2 separate regions of the Homo sapiens genome follow, and region 2 is linked to region 1. Evidence: promoter capture Hi-C in 16 types of primary human blood cells and fetal thymus (Javierre and others, 2016). All regions are on one chromosome and are shown on one strand. Each heading gives the region's core, a stretch centred on a gene start or on the middle of the fragment in contact. The rest is flanking DNA. Distances are from core to core; before and after follow the strand shown. Region 1 holds the start of SEC23A (SEC23 homolog A, COPII component). Region 2 overlaps PSMA3 (proteasome 20S subunit alpha 3).

Region 1 (6,648 bases), core at 631-3,130:
CATCAATGTTGCTATGGTCTGAATATTTGTGTCCTACCAAACTCATAGGTTGAAATCTTAACTGCTAAGGTGATGGTATAGGGAGGTAGGGCCTTTGGGAGGTGAACAGGTCATGAGGGCTGGCCTCTCATGAATGGGATTAGTACCCTTGTAAAAGAGACCCCAGAGAGCTAGCCAGCCCCTTCTGCCATGTGAGAACAAAGAAGGCACCATCTATGAATCAGAAAGCAGGTCCTCACCGGACACCAAATCTGCTGGCATCTTGATCCTGGACTTCTCAGCCTCCAGGACAGTCAGAAATAAATTTCTGTTGTTTATGAGCTACCCAGTTGAGGGCATTTGTGTTAGCAGCCTAAATGGACTAAGATCTTTTTATCCTACTCATTCTTAGATCTTGTCGCTTTTGGTGGGTGTACTTATTCCACCTTTATAACAACACCTCTGCTGTGTGCTGTTAAGAATCTTCATTAAGGTAGCACCTTGAACCTACTTTATTTGGAAGCCTACACTAATTTTTGGCTTTCGATTCCCATTGCCCTCTTCAGGATTGTATTACAATTTGACAAGCAAACATCCTCTTCCACCTTCCAAAACAACTTTAGTACACACATTATAGAAAGGGAAATATGTTTGGTGCTTTTTTTTTTGAGACAGTCTCACTCTGTCACCCAGGCTGGAGTGCAATGGCGTGGTCTCGGCTCACTGCAACCTCCGCCTCCCGGGTTCAAGCAATTCTTCTGCCTCATCCTCCCGAGTAGCTGGGACTACAGGAGCGTGCCACCACACCCGGCTAATTTTTGTATTTTTAGTAGAGACGGTGTTTCACTATGTTGGCCAGGCTGGTCTCGAACTCCTTACCTTGTGATCCGCCTGCCTCCGCCTCCCAAAGTGTTGGGATTACAGGCGTGAGCCACCGCGCCCAGCCTGGTGCTGCTGTCTTATTTCTCATGAATATGAGCTTTCAAGGACAGGGACTTGATCTTTTTTTCCATTCCATAAAATGTTGATATGGCTAAACTTTGCAGGCTTTTAGGCGTTGTCATATATGCAATTAATTCCATGGGCACTTAATTTCATTCCCCTCACTGAAGGAAGGGGTTGTCTGAGACCACCAAGCTCTAATGTCTTACCAATCTGTTGCTTTCTCATTTTGTTCAACTTTTTTCTTGGAAAGAAAAACATTGAACATATCAAGATGAATCAGCCAAATATTGTACTGTGTGTGTGTTTTGGGGGTGGGGGGAGACAGAGTTGAAGTGGCAGAGGCAATGTAGGAGGAAAAGACAGGCTGACTAAAATACATAAATAGTACGTGAATTCTTTCGGGCCAGGGATCTGGGCCTACTTTGCCTGCATCATATTACCAGCATCTCAATTGTGTCTGGCACATAGTAAGTTTCAGTAAACATTTGTTGCACTAAGTGAAAGAATGAACTTTTCACTTTTTTCAGAGATGTGATTTGTGATTCTCGGAATCAACCAGGGTCCTAAGATGTCCTGGAGGCCGTCTCCATTTCTCTCGGTGAGCTAAGGTGTCCGAGTGGCACCAGTTCTCCACTCTTTCTGCGACCTGCAGGGAGTGGGATACGCTGTGGCTTTAGGGAGCTGGGAAAGGCGCTCTCTCCCGGTCCCGCTCTGCCCGGTCCCACGCCCCTCGGCCGTCCGGCTGCCTGGGTCTTCCGGGTTCTTCCGCCCCTCTGGCTCGGTCCCCGCTACCTCTCCTCCCTCCTCCCCTCTCGGTACCTTCGCCCGCCGCGCGCCTTTCTCAAATCCTCCGGTTATTAAGCAAGCTCAGGGGTCCGGTGGCCTGCCCTGGTAACTCTGCGCCCGCCCCTTCCTGCCCCCTTCCTGCCCTCACGCCCCGTCCCCTCCTCTTGACGTGGCAGAGGCGGCGCCAGCCATGTTGGCCGGGCGGAGGTCTTCGCTGAGGCCCGGGGCGGGGTGGCGCCACCCCTGATTGCGGTGCCACGGACTGCTCCTGCTGGGCGGAGAGGACAGATTTTGCAAAGCGGAGGCTGCGACGGGTCCTGCAGGGGGACAGTGAGGAAAGGGCCGCCTCGTCTCCGCTCCTGGGGGACCGCAGGTGCGCAGCGGGGAGCGGGGGCGGGCTGGCGGCGGCGGGCTGGGGGCTGGGATCCTGGGGTGGTCCCGGCTCTGCCCTCTCGGTGCCCCGGGGCCAGCGAGGTGTGCTGGAGGCTGAGGCCCGGTCCGGCGCGGGGAGCGTTGAGTGCTGAGCTTGCCACCCTCTCACCCACTTCGCTCTGCCGGGGCCGGGGGCCCGGCCTCCTCCAGCTCCCCTGGATTAGGTGGAAAGATGTGGAAAACGGTGGTTCGAGCATCTCGCCCAGCACCCACCCCCACCTCCTGGGCCACCCACCTCCACCCAAGTCCATCATCGCCTCTGGGCCCTTGGACTTACTGTTTCATTCCTTGCCAGATATGGAGTGTCCTAGACTTTGAACCCAATTGACTACGTCACCGTAATTCAGCCTTGGAAGTTAAAGGGGTTAAAGGGGAAAAGAGCTTGGTAAAGATAATGCCTTGGGTTTTGATTACAAAGAGTTCAGTTTTCCAGCAGGACCAGCCCTATCTCACTGGGCTTTCTTTCTACGGTAGGTAGTGTTTCCCGATTTGGTGGTAAAGGTACTGCCTGAGGAAGGTCATAGTAAATCTACATCAATCACTGAAGTGGGGATGTGGAATTCTCGTTTTCACTTGAACTCCCTCAACCTCTACCGTCCAAAGCCATGGATAACTAGCCAAATTAACTTGGTTTAAAAAGGTTTTAGATTTAAATATAAATGCATGTTGAGTTTTCCTTCTCTTTCTCCTCTGGTAGTGAATGAACATCATTTCAGAAGTCCAGCTATTTTTTTTTTTTCTGAGACGGAGTCTTGCTTTGTCGCCCAGGCTGGAGTGCAGTGGCGCAATCTCGGCTCACTGCAACCTCCGCCTCCCTGGTTCAAGCGATTCTCCTGCTTCAGCCTCCCGAGTAGCTGGGATTACAGGGGCGAGCTACTATGCCCGGCTAATTTTTGTATCTTTAGTAGAGACGGGGTTTCACCATGTTGGCCAGGCTGGTCTCGAACTCCTGACCTCAGGTGATCCGCCCGCCTCGGCCTCCCAAAGTGCTGGGATCACAGGCATGAGCCACTGCGCCCGGCCAGAGTCCAGCTATTTTTAATTGACTTACAGAATTTTAGAGTTAGATGGGACCTTGTGATTTTCTAGTCCAAGTCTCTTATTTTGCTGATGAGAAAAACAGGATTCAGAGAGGTTAATTGTCCAAGATCATAAGAAGACAATTCATTGAGGATTTTGGAAGTGAAAAGTAGGAGACAAATTTAATTGGCAACTAACAAATACATGTAATTGGAAGGAACTCAAATTTACTTGGCAAGTACATTTTCAATTAGATATGAATAAAAGGGCTTAAAATTAGAATATTGAAAAACTATCATAGGGAAAGTCTTTTTTGTTTTTTTTTTTTTTGAGACGGAGTCTCGCTCTGTCACCCAGGCTGGAGTGCAGTGGAACGATTTCGGCTCACTGCAACCTCCGCCTCCCAGGTACAAGCTAAGCTATTCTCCTGTCTCAGCCGCCTGAGTAGCTGGGACTACAGGCGACCGCCACCATGCCTGGCTAATTTTTGTATTTTCAGTAGAGACGGGGTTTAACCATATTGGCCAGGCTGGTCTCGATCTCCTGACCTCATGATCCACCCTCCTCGGCCTCCAAAAGTGCTGGGATTACAGGTGTGAGCCACCGCGCCCGGCCAGGGAAGTCTTACTTTTAAAAGACTTGGGCACATATTTGATATACTAGGTTAAAGTGACATAGTGGTTTGCTTCTTAGCTTTTAGCTCTATTATGATAAATTATTTAACCAAAGTATATTGTACTGAAATTGGACATTTCTTTGTAATAGTCTTTTGTGTTTTGTATCACTTTTTAAAAAAAATAAAGACTAGTGGCTGGGTGCGGCAGTTTACGCCTGTAATCCCAGCACTTTGGGAGGCCGAGGCAGGCCAATCACCTGAGGTCAGGAGTTCGAGACCAGCCTGGCCAACGTGGTGAAACCCCATCTCTACTAAAAATACAAAAATTAGCTGGGTGTAGTAGCTCACGCCTGTAATCCCAGCTACTGGGGAGGCTGAGGCGGGAGAATCGCCTGAACCCGGGAGGTGGAGGTTGCAGTGAGCCGAGATTGCACCACTGCACTCCAACCTGGGTGATAGAGTGAGACTCCATCTCAAAAAAAAAAGAGACTAATATGCTAAGTCTGCATTCTAATATAGTGTGTGGAATAATATTTCTTTGGTTTAATACTTTTATGCAAACATGTTAGTATTAGGGGAGAGAGTGCTTATCAAATAATATCATGTTATGAAAAGCTAGTTTGTGGCTGGGCATGGTGGCTCACACCTGTAATCCCAGCACTTTGGGAGGCTGAGGTGGGTGGATCACCTGAGGTTGGGAGTTCGAGACCAGCCTGACCAACATGGAGAAACCCCATCTCTACTAAAAATACAAAAATTAGCCAGGTGTGGTGGCTTATGCCCGTAATCCCAGCTACTCAGGAGGCTGAGGCGGGAGAATTGCTTGAATCCGGGAGGAGGAGTTTGCGGTGAGCCGAGATCACGCCATTGCACTCCAGCCTGGGCAACGAGCGAAACTCCGTCTCAAAAAAAAAAAAAAAGTTAAGTTGGCTTGTAAAAGGACTTTATTTCAGATATGCCATTGTCGGACATGGGACTAAGCCTGGCAAATTTTGTAATTGAATTCGTGATTTTAAGATTGCATGACTCCTACTATGGAAAGGTGAGGGAAGTCAGGGAAGTGTTGTGCATAGCCATGTAATTGGACCAATTGAGAAACAGGTGGGATTTTCTTCAAACTACTGCTGGAATGTGGGAATGTAAGAAGTATAATAGATGTGATTTAGCAAGCAAATTGATCTTAGAGCAGGGAGATTGAGAGGAAAAAATGTGAAGAAGAGAAGAGAGTTGTGCCCAGATATCACTCAGGTGATATTTAGTATGTCTTAATAAGAAGTAAGAATGTAGAGATACAATCCAGCCTTTTAACCAGTTGTAGAAAGTTAAACCTGGCTATTGTCTGTGTGTGAATGTCTTCCTGCTAAGACTCCTGGAACCTTTCTTAGTGAGGTTTCCTAATGGTCCTAAGGCAGTGGTTTTCAGAACCCCTAACTTAAACATTATTGAGTATCCAAAGAGAAAAAAAAAAGGCTAAATAGAAGACAGGTGGGTTTTCATATCTGTTTCTGCAGTTTATTGTGATATATTGTTTTGGTTGAATTGTATGAAGGATTAATTAATAAATTAAAAGGTTAATTGCAGTGTGGAATCTGAAAGCTTAGGAGTGACCTTTTTGTACTTTGTTACCTTAAAACTCATTGGCCTATTCTACACTTTGAATGGATCATCTACCCATGTGTGATATTTTCATATCACAAATTGACGGTTTGGAAGATATTGCTTCACTGAGTAATGTATATCTTCTAAATGTTAATACATTTTGTTATATACTATCAAACAAATTACATTAATACCAACACTGATCTCATCAGAAAAATCTTTACATATTAGGAACTTGTCAAGCTTATGGTAGCAGGCACAAGTTTTAAAACAATTTAATGGCGGGGAGCGGTGCCTCAAGCATGTAATCCCAGCACTTTGGGAGGCCGAGGCCGGCGGATCACGAGGTCAGACAATTGAGATCATCCTGGCCAACATGGTGAAACCCTGTCTCTACTAAAAATACAAAAAATTAGCTGGGTATGGTGGCACGCGCATGTAGTCCCAGCTACTTGGGAGGCTGAGGCAGGGGAATCGCTTGAACCCGGGAGGCAGAGGTTGCAGTGAGCTGAGATTGCCCCACTGCACTCCAGCCTGGTGACAGAGTGAGACTCCGTGTCAAAAAAAAAAAAAAAAAAAAAAACCCAAAAACAATTTAATGTTTGCTTGAAAGCTCAAATTTTTATCATTGGCAAAAAATACTATAAGTTGTTTTCTATGAAGTGATAGGTTTACTTCATACATTTTTGAGAAAATATCTGTGTAATACCTAAGTACTAGTTATGTACTATCCTTGGGAGAATTGAGAAAACAGTCATTGAAAACATTTTTTGTTTTGTGTTTCAGCTATTTTAATGCCTTTTGCAGATGTGTTTTAGATGCATTTTATTTTTTTTTTTTGTTATGGCACATTAGAATTTTTATTTTTTCTTAATAACACTGGATTTCTTATGACTTATTTTTTGTCAAATGTAGTCATCCCTGTTCTGATTTCATTTTATTTTATTAAATTTTTTTTTTTTTTGAGAAGGAGTCTCACTCTGTCGCCCAGGCTAGAGTGCAGTGGCATGATCTCGGCTCACTGCAACCTCCACCTCCCGGGTTCAAGTGATTCTCCTGCCTTAGCCTCCTGAGTAGCTGGGATTACAGGCACTCACCACCAGCTCAGCTAATTTTTGTATTTTTGGTAGAGATGGGGTTTCACCATGTTGGCCAGGCTGGTCTTGAACTCCTACCTCAAGCGATCCGCTGGCCTCAGCCTCCCAAAGTGCTAGGATTACAGGCGTGAGCCACTGTGCCTGGCCTTAAAATTTTTTTTATTTTTAATTTTT
Region 2 (6,124 bases), core at 2,528-5,027, about 19 Mb before region 1:
CTTTCAAAAAACATTGCTTCTGTACTGAACAACTGTGATTTTCTTGTCATTATTCCCTAAACAATACAGTGTAACAGCTATTTACACTGTGTTAGGTATTGCAAGTAATCTAGAGATGACAACATACAGGAGGATATGCACAGGTTATATGCAAATACTTAACCATTTTATATCAGGGACTTCAGCAACCTTGGATTTTGGTATTCATGGGAGGTCCTAAAACCAATCCCCCACAAATACCAAGGGACAACTATATTTGCCTTAGAGTAGAAAAGAAATCAGCAGCATCTTACACATCATCTTATATGCGGAATATTTTAACTATTCAATTCCCATCCCTACCGTCATTTCCTTCCATTTTCTACCGATATGAGACTTATCCTTCAGGATATATAGCTCATTGTCACTATTTTAAAGCCTTTCAACATTTCTTTGAAGAAAATCAGCATGGAGCACAGACTTTTATATGACTGGACCCCTTCCTACATCAGTATCATCTCTAAACCTCATACTCTACACACCAAGCATACTTAACTCTCTCTGGCGCACGTATTTTCATACCAGTTCCTGTGCTTGCAACTACCAAGTCTCCCTACATCTCACACTCTTCCTTGCCTCCTGTCCAGAAAGAGTCCGTTCCCTAATTGTTGTCCCTTTATCATATCACTAATATTTTATCAATGTGACTTCACACCTGTGTCTCCACATTTATGACTAACTCAGTGCCCAATAGATGTTTACTAAAAAAGTTCTCTCTGGCCCAGTGCGGTGGCTCACGCCTGTAATCCCAGCACTTTGGGAGGCTGAGGTGGATCACTTGAGGTCAGGAGTTTGAGACCAGCCTGGCCAACATGGCGAAACCCTGACTGTACTAAAAATAAAAAAATTAGCCGGGCGTGGTGGCAGGTGCTTGTAATCCCTGCTACTCAGGAGGTTGAGGCAGGAGAATAGCTTGAACCCGGGAGGCAGAGGTTGCAGTGACCTGAGATCGTGCCACTGCATTCCAGCCTGGGCGACAGAGCGAGACTCCATCTCAAAACAAAACAAAACAAACAAAAAAAAAGTTATGAAAAAAAGTTATCTCTACTATTCTTACTCCCTTAAAAAGAGTAGAGAAGTTAACTGATGAACTCAGAGCTCAGTTGAAAGGTATTTTACATGGTCTGAAAACAAAGTGTTTCATAATGTAATTTAACTGAGAAGCTTAAGAATGACTAATGTCAGCCTGGGCAGCATGGTGAGACCCCGTCTCTACAAAAAAAAATTTTGTTAATTAGCCAGGCATGGTGGCCCATGCCTGTGGTCCCAGCTACTTGGGAGGCTGAGGTAGGAGCATCGCTTGAGCCAGGTCAAAGCTGCAGTCAGCCATGATGGCACCACTGCACTCCAGCTCAGGTGACAGTAACTGTCTCAAAAAGTAAAAACAAAACCCTAATGTAATATTACCAATAGAATAAAACTCAAGTTTTCTTTAATATCTTAGTAATTAAATATGACTGATGATAAACAACTCAAAGGTAGGACTACAGCTGAGCACTCAGATGTTAGTATATGTATTATTTTGACCAAACATGTTTGACTGTTTTAAGTCATAAGCCAAACATGTCTTTTCATTTTAGAAAAATCTAGTCACAAGTCTTCTCTGTGAAGCCAAATTTGAATATTTATACCTATTCCAGGTCTTTATGCAGCTGAATCTCCACTTTACCCCACAATAAAATATCAGCACTTCAACAGAAAGAGAAACCGTGCCTAATGGGAATTGTGAGACGTAATTTTTAAAATTACCTAAGAATATCAGGGACTAACACCGAGAGCTTATTATAATCAGATTAAAGTCATTGTTATCAGTTCCTTGTTTTATAATCACTTCAGATCTATATAGTCCTTTTCACTATTGAAACCTTTTTTTTTTTTTTTTTTTTTTTTTTAAAGAGGCAGAGTCTCTATTGCGCCAGCTAGAGTACAGTGGTATGGCCACAGCTCATTCCAGCCTTCAACTCCTGGGCTCAAATGATCCTCTCAAGCAGCTCCTAAGTAGCTGTGACTACAGGCATGTGATACTGCACCTGGCTAAATTTTAAATTTTTTTTGTAGAGATAGGTTCTCACTGCGTTGGCCAGGCTGGTCTCATACTCCTGGGCGCGAGGGATCCTCCCACCTCAACCTCCCAAAGTACTGGGATTACAGGCTTGAGCCATGGCACCCAGCCTCAAGTAGTTTCTATGTACACTGTTTTATTTAATCATTGCCCTAATACTTATCGACGAGTTTCTATTTTTAAGTATGTAAAAGGCTAAGATGCTGGGGAACATAATAAATATCTATAGTACAGATCTGCCTTTTGAATAATTCACAAAATTTCTTACCTGCAGCCAAAAGGTCTAACAGCACTGTAGAGTGTATATGCATGCACATACATGGCCACTCTGTCTGCAAGATGCTATGGAGGGAAGCAGAAGAGCTTATTAATAAACTTCTATTACTGTCCAAAAGGTTCCTCAATATGTTATCAACTTACTTTTAGTGGAATGTTGTAGCCAAAGTTAGATCTGAAGTTGGAAGCTTCTTCTCTTGCTATGTCTGCTAAAGAACGAGCATCTGCCAACAAACCTGCTACTGCCTGAAAAAAAAGCACCAATTTACTAGAGGAACACATTCCTATCACAAATCAAAGTCTGCAATTAATAAAGACTTATTAAACATTTTTTTAACAAGTATTACCATTCAAAATAAACTTTTTTGGCTTAAAGGTCTCTCTACAAGGCATTTTGATGCTTGAGTATGAAATTATAATTTAGAAATTTAGTAAGTATAACTTCATTGCTTTGTCCAATGTTCATATTCAGGACATTTCCTTTTTTTTTTTTGATACGGGGTCTCGCTCTGTCACCAGGGCTGGAGTACAGTGGCATGATCTCCGCTCACTTCACACTCTGCCTCCTGGGTTCATGCCATTCTCCTGCCTCAGCCTCCTGAGTAGCTGGGACTACAGGCGCCTGCCACCACGCCCGGCTAATTTTTTTGTATTTTTAGTAGAGATGGGGTTTCACCATGTCAGCCAGGACGGTCTTGATCTCCTGACCTCGTGATCTGCCTGCCTCAGCCTCCTAAAGTGCTGGGATTACAGGCGTGAGCCACCGTGCCCGGCCAATATTCAGGACTACTTCTATCATAAATCCTCTTCCCCTGATTTACTACCACTACCTCATTATAACGAATAAAAACCATGGGTCTTGGTCAGATTTTTTTTTTTTTTTTTTTTTGAGACAGAGTCTCACTGTGTCACCTAGGCTGGAGCACAATGGCACCATCTGGGCTCACTTCAACCTTTGCCTCTCAGGTTCAAGGGATTCTCCTGCCTCAGCCTCCCCAGTAGCTGGGATTGGCTAATTTTTATATTTTTAGTAGAGACAGGGTTTGGTTTTGTCATGTTGGCCAGGCTGGTCTTGAACTCCTGACCTCAGGTGATCAGCCTGCCTCAGCCTCCCAAAATGTTGGGATTATGGGTGTGAGCCGCCGTGCCCGGCCCAAATTTGTTCTTTTCTCTAAAGTTATTACAGGTTGAGGATATCTAATCCAAAAATCTGAAATTTAAAACGCTTCAGAATCTGAAACTTTTTGAGTGCCAACATGACACTCAAAGGAAATGCTCAGGCCGGACCTGGTGGCTCACACCTGTAATCCCAGCACTTTGGGAGGCTGAGGCAGGTGGATCACAAGGTCACGAGTTCAAGACCAGCCTGGCCAAGATGGTGAAATGCCGTCTCTACTAAAAATACAAAAATTAGCCAGGCGTGGTTGCAGGCACCTGTAATCCCAGTTACTTGGGAGGCCGAGGCAGAGAATTGCTTGAACCTGGGAGGCGGAAGTTGCAGTGAGCCGAGATCGCGCCACTGCACTCCATCCTGGGCAACAGAGCGAGACTCCATCTCAAAAAAAAAAAAAAAAGGAAATGCTCAGTAGAGCTTTTTGGATTTTGAATTTTCAGATTAAGGATGCTCAGCTGATGAGTATATAATGCAGATATTCCAAAATCGAAAAATATCCGATATACTGCTGGTCCCAAGCATTTTAGACGAGAGATACTCAACCTGTAACTGTTTTGTTCTAAAAGGCACAATCGCAAATCTTTTTTCAGCCTATTGGCTGAATAAACTACAATGATAAACCATTCCTCTTTCAAGATTTGCGGCTTAGAACTGCAGTTACTAGGCCGGGCACGGTGGCTCATGCCTGTGATCCCAGCACTTTGGGAGGCCGAGGCAGGGGGATCACCTGAGGTCAGGAGTTTGAAACCAGCCTGGACAACATGGTGAAACCCCTACTAAAAATACAAAAATTAGTCAGGTTTGGTGGCGGGCACCTATAATCCTACCTACTCCCAAGGCTGAGCCACAAGAATCACTTGAACTCGGGAGGCGGAGGCTGCAGTGAGCCGAGATCACGCCACTACACTCCAGCCTGAGCAACAGAATGAGACTTTGTCTCAAAACAAAAACAAAAACAAAAACAGAATTGCAGTTACTATGTATGTGCCGAGAGGTCCTCAGGCACTGCAGTGAAATCACATGTTAGTGTGGCATATCTTTTTTTTTGAGATGGAGTTTTGCTCTTGTTGCCCAGGCTAGAGCACAGTGGTGCAATCGCGGCTCACCGCAACCTCCACCTCCCAGGTTCAAGGGATTCTCCTGCCTCAGCCTCCCGAGTAGCTGGGAGTACAGGCATGCGCCACCACGCCCGGCTAATTTTTGTGTTTTTAGTAGAGACAGGGTTTCTCCATGTTGGTCAGGCTGGTCTTGAACTTTCGACCTCAGGTGATCCGCCCGCCTTGGCCTCCGAAAGTGCTGGGATTACAGGTGTGAGCCACTGCACCTGGCCTAGTGTGGCACATTCTAAGTTTGGAGAAAAATGTCCAAGTAGTTCCGTTTGAACATTAGATCGTTTTACTACATTCCTTTCAATGCCACCACATCTTTGAGAAGCTTGGCTGTTAGTGGTTGCTGTGAAAAAAAGTAAGTACTGTGCAAAAATCAGTGTGGAACAGGAAATGACAGTGGCCACATCCAAATTTGGGAGGTTGTGCAGTGTATATACTAGAAATTTTGGTTGCTTAAAATAAAACATTTTAATTTTTAAATAAAAATATTTTTCACTATGTGTGTATTTAAAAAAAAAAAACGGCTACTAAGTTTTTAGGATGTAAACACTAAGTTCTTTGGATCTAAATACTTAATAAATGAAACCATTAGGTATTTTCGGCCTAGGGAAGCCATGAGAAAAACTACTGAGACACTTAAGGTACCATAAACCAACCAAGTTTTTGAAACCCTCTAGCCCAGGACAGTTACAGAATTTAAAAGTGGTATCACAATCTTTAATAGCCTTTTTTTCCTACGCTACCCAGTAATAGTAATAATGATAATTACTAAGAGATACTGAGCACTCATTACATGTTAAGCATTTTGCATAATAATTTTTAACCTCACAACAACTGTATGTGCCAAGTACTATTATCACTCTTGTTTTGCAGACAAGGAAACGCGTGTTTAGAATAGCTTCCCCAAGGTAACCCATGCCAGTAAGTTACATCACTTAAAGAATCTTCTGTTGCTTTAGAGAAAGCTTACTGTAAAGTCATATAATTCTCAAATCACTTGAAGATGACAACTGTGGAAGGAGGGAGGATATTAAGTCTTAATTTTCTCCAGCCCTCTTCAATGTCTAATGTTGACAGGGCACATTGGCTCATGCCTGTAATCTCAGCAACTCAAGAAGCTGAGGCGGGAGGATCGCTTGAGCCCAGGAGTTCAAGACCAGCCTGAGCAACACAGCAAGATCATATCTCTTAAAAAAACTAAAAAATTAGCCAGGTGTGATGGCACACTTGTAGTCACAGCTATTTGGGAGGCTGAGGCAGAAGAATCACTTGAGCCCAGGAGCGCAAGGCTGCAGTGAGCTATGATCATGCCACTGCACTCAAGCCTGGGCAACAGAGCAAGACCTCTGTGTGTGTGTACATACATATATATATGCATGCATAATTTTTTTCAAAATATTAACTTTTGCTAGTACATAAAAGAATACAAGATCACCTCCTACTAGCTAGGTTACAATGTAGCAA

The links. The method cuts DNA at HindIII sites, captures the fragments that hold promoters and counts their contacts. A CHiCAGO score of 5 or more calls a contact.
Region 2: a fragment that was not itself captured here is called in contact with the fragment with the promoter of SEC23A in region 1 in 1 of 17 cell types (monocytes); the score reaches 8.6 in monocytes.

What each region holds. Positions count from the first base shown.
Region 1 is chr14:39,098,467-39,105,114 of GRCh38, reverse strand. SEC23A (SEC23 homolog A, COPII component) reads left to right here and starts at 1,880. Exons shown (of 20, transcript NM_006364.4): 1 at 1,880-2,083. SEC23A-AS1 (SEC23A antisense RNA 1) reads right to left here and starts at 1,975. Exons shown (of 2, transcript NR_146545.1): 1 at 1,744-1,975; 2 at 1,303-1,570. RefSeq lists silencers at 1,665-1,894, 2,055-2,174, 2,195-2,274. The HindIII fragment of the contact is 19,881 bases long and covers 1-5,376 here.
Region 2 is chr14:58,254,244-58,260,367 of GRCh38, reverse strand. PSMA3 (proteasome 20S subunit alpha 3) reads right to left here. Exons shown (of 11, transcript NM_002788.4): 4 at 2,522-2,623; 5 at 2,370-2,443. Among named protein-coding and RNA genes, the nearest start is that of PSMA3, 12 kb to the right of the region's middle. The HindIII fragment of the contact is 2,420 bases long and covers 2,568-4,987 here.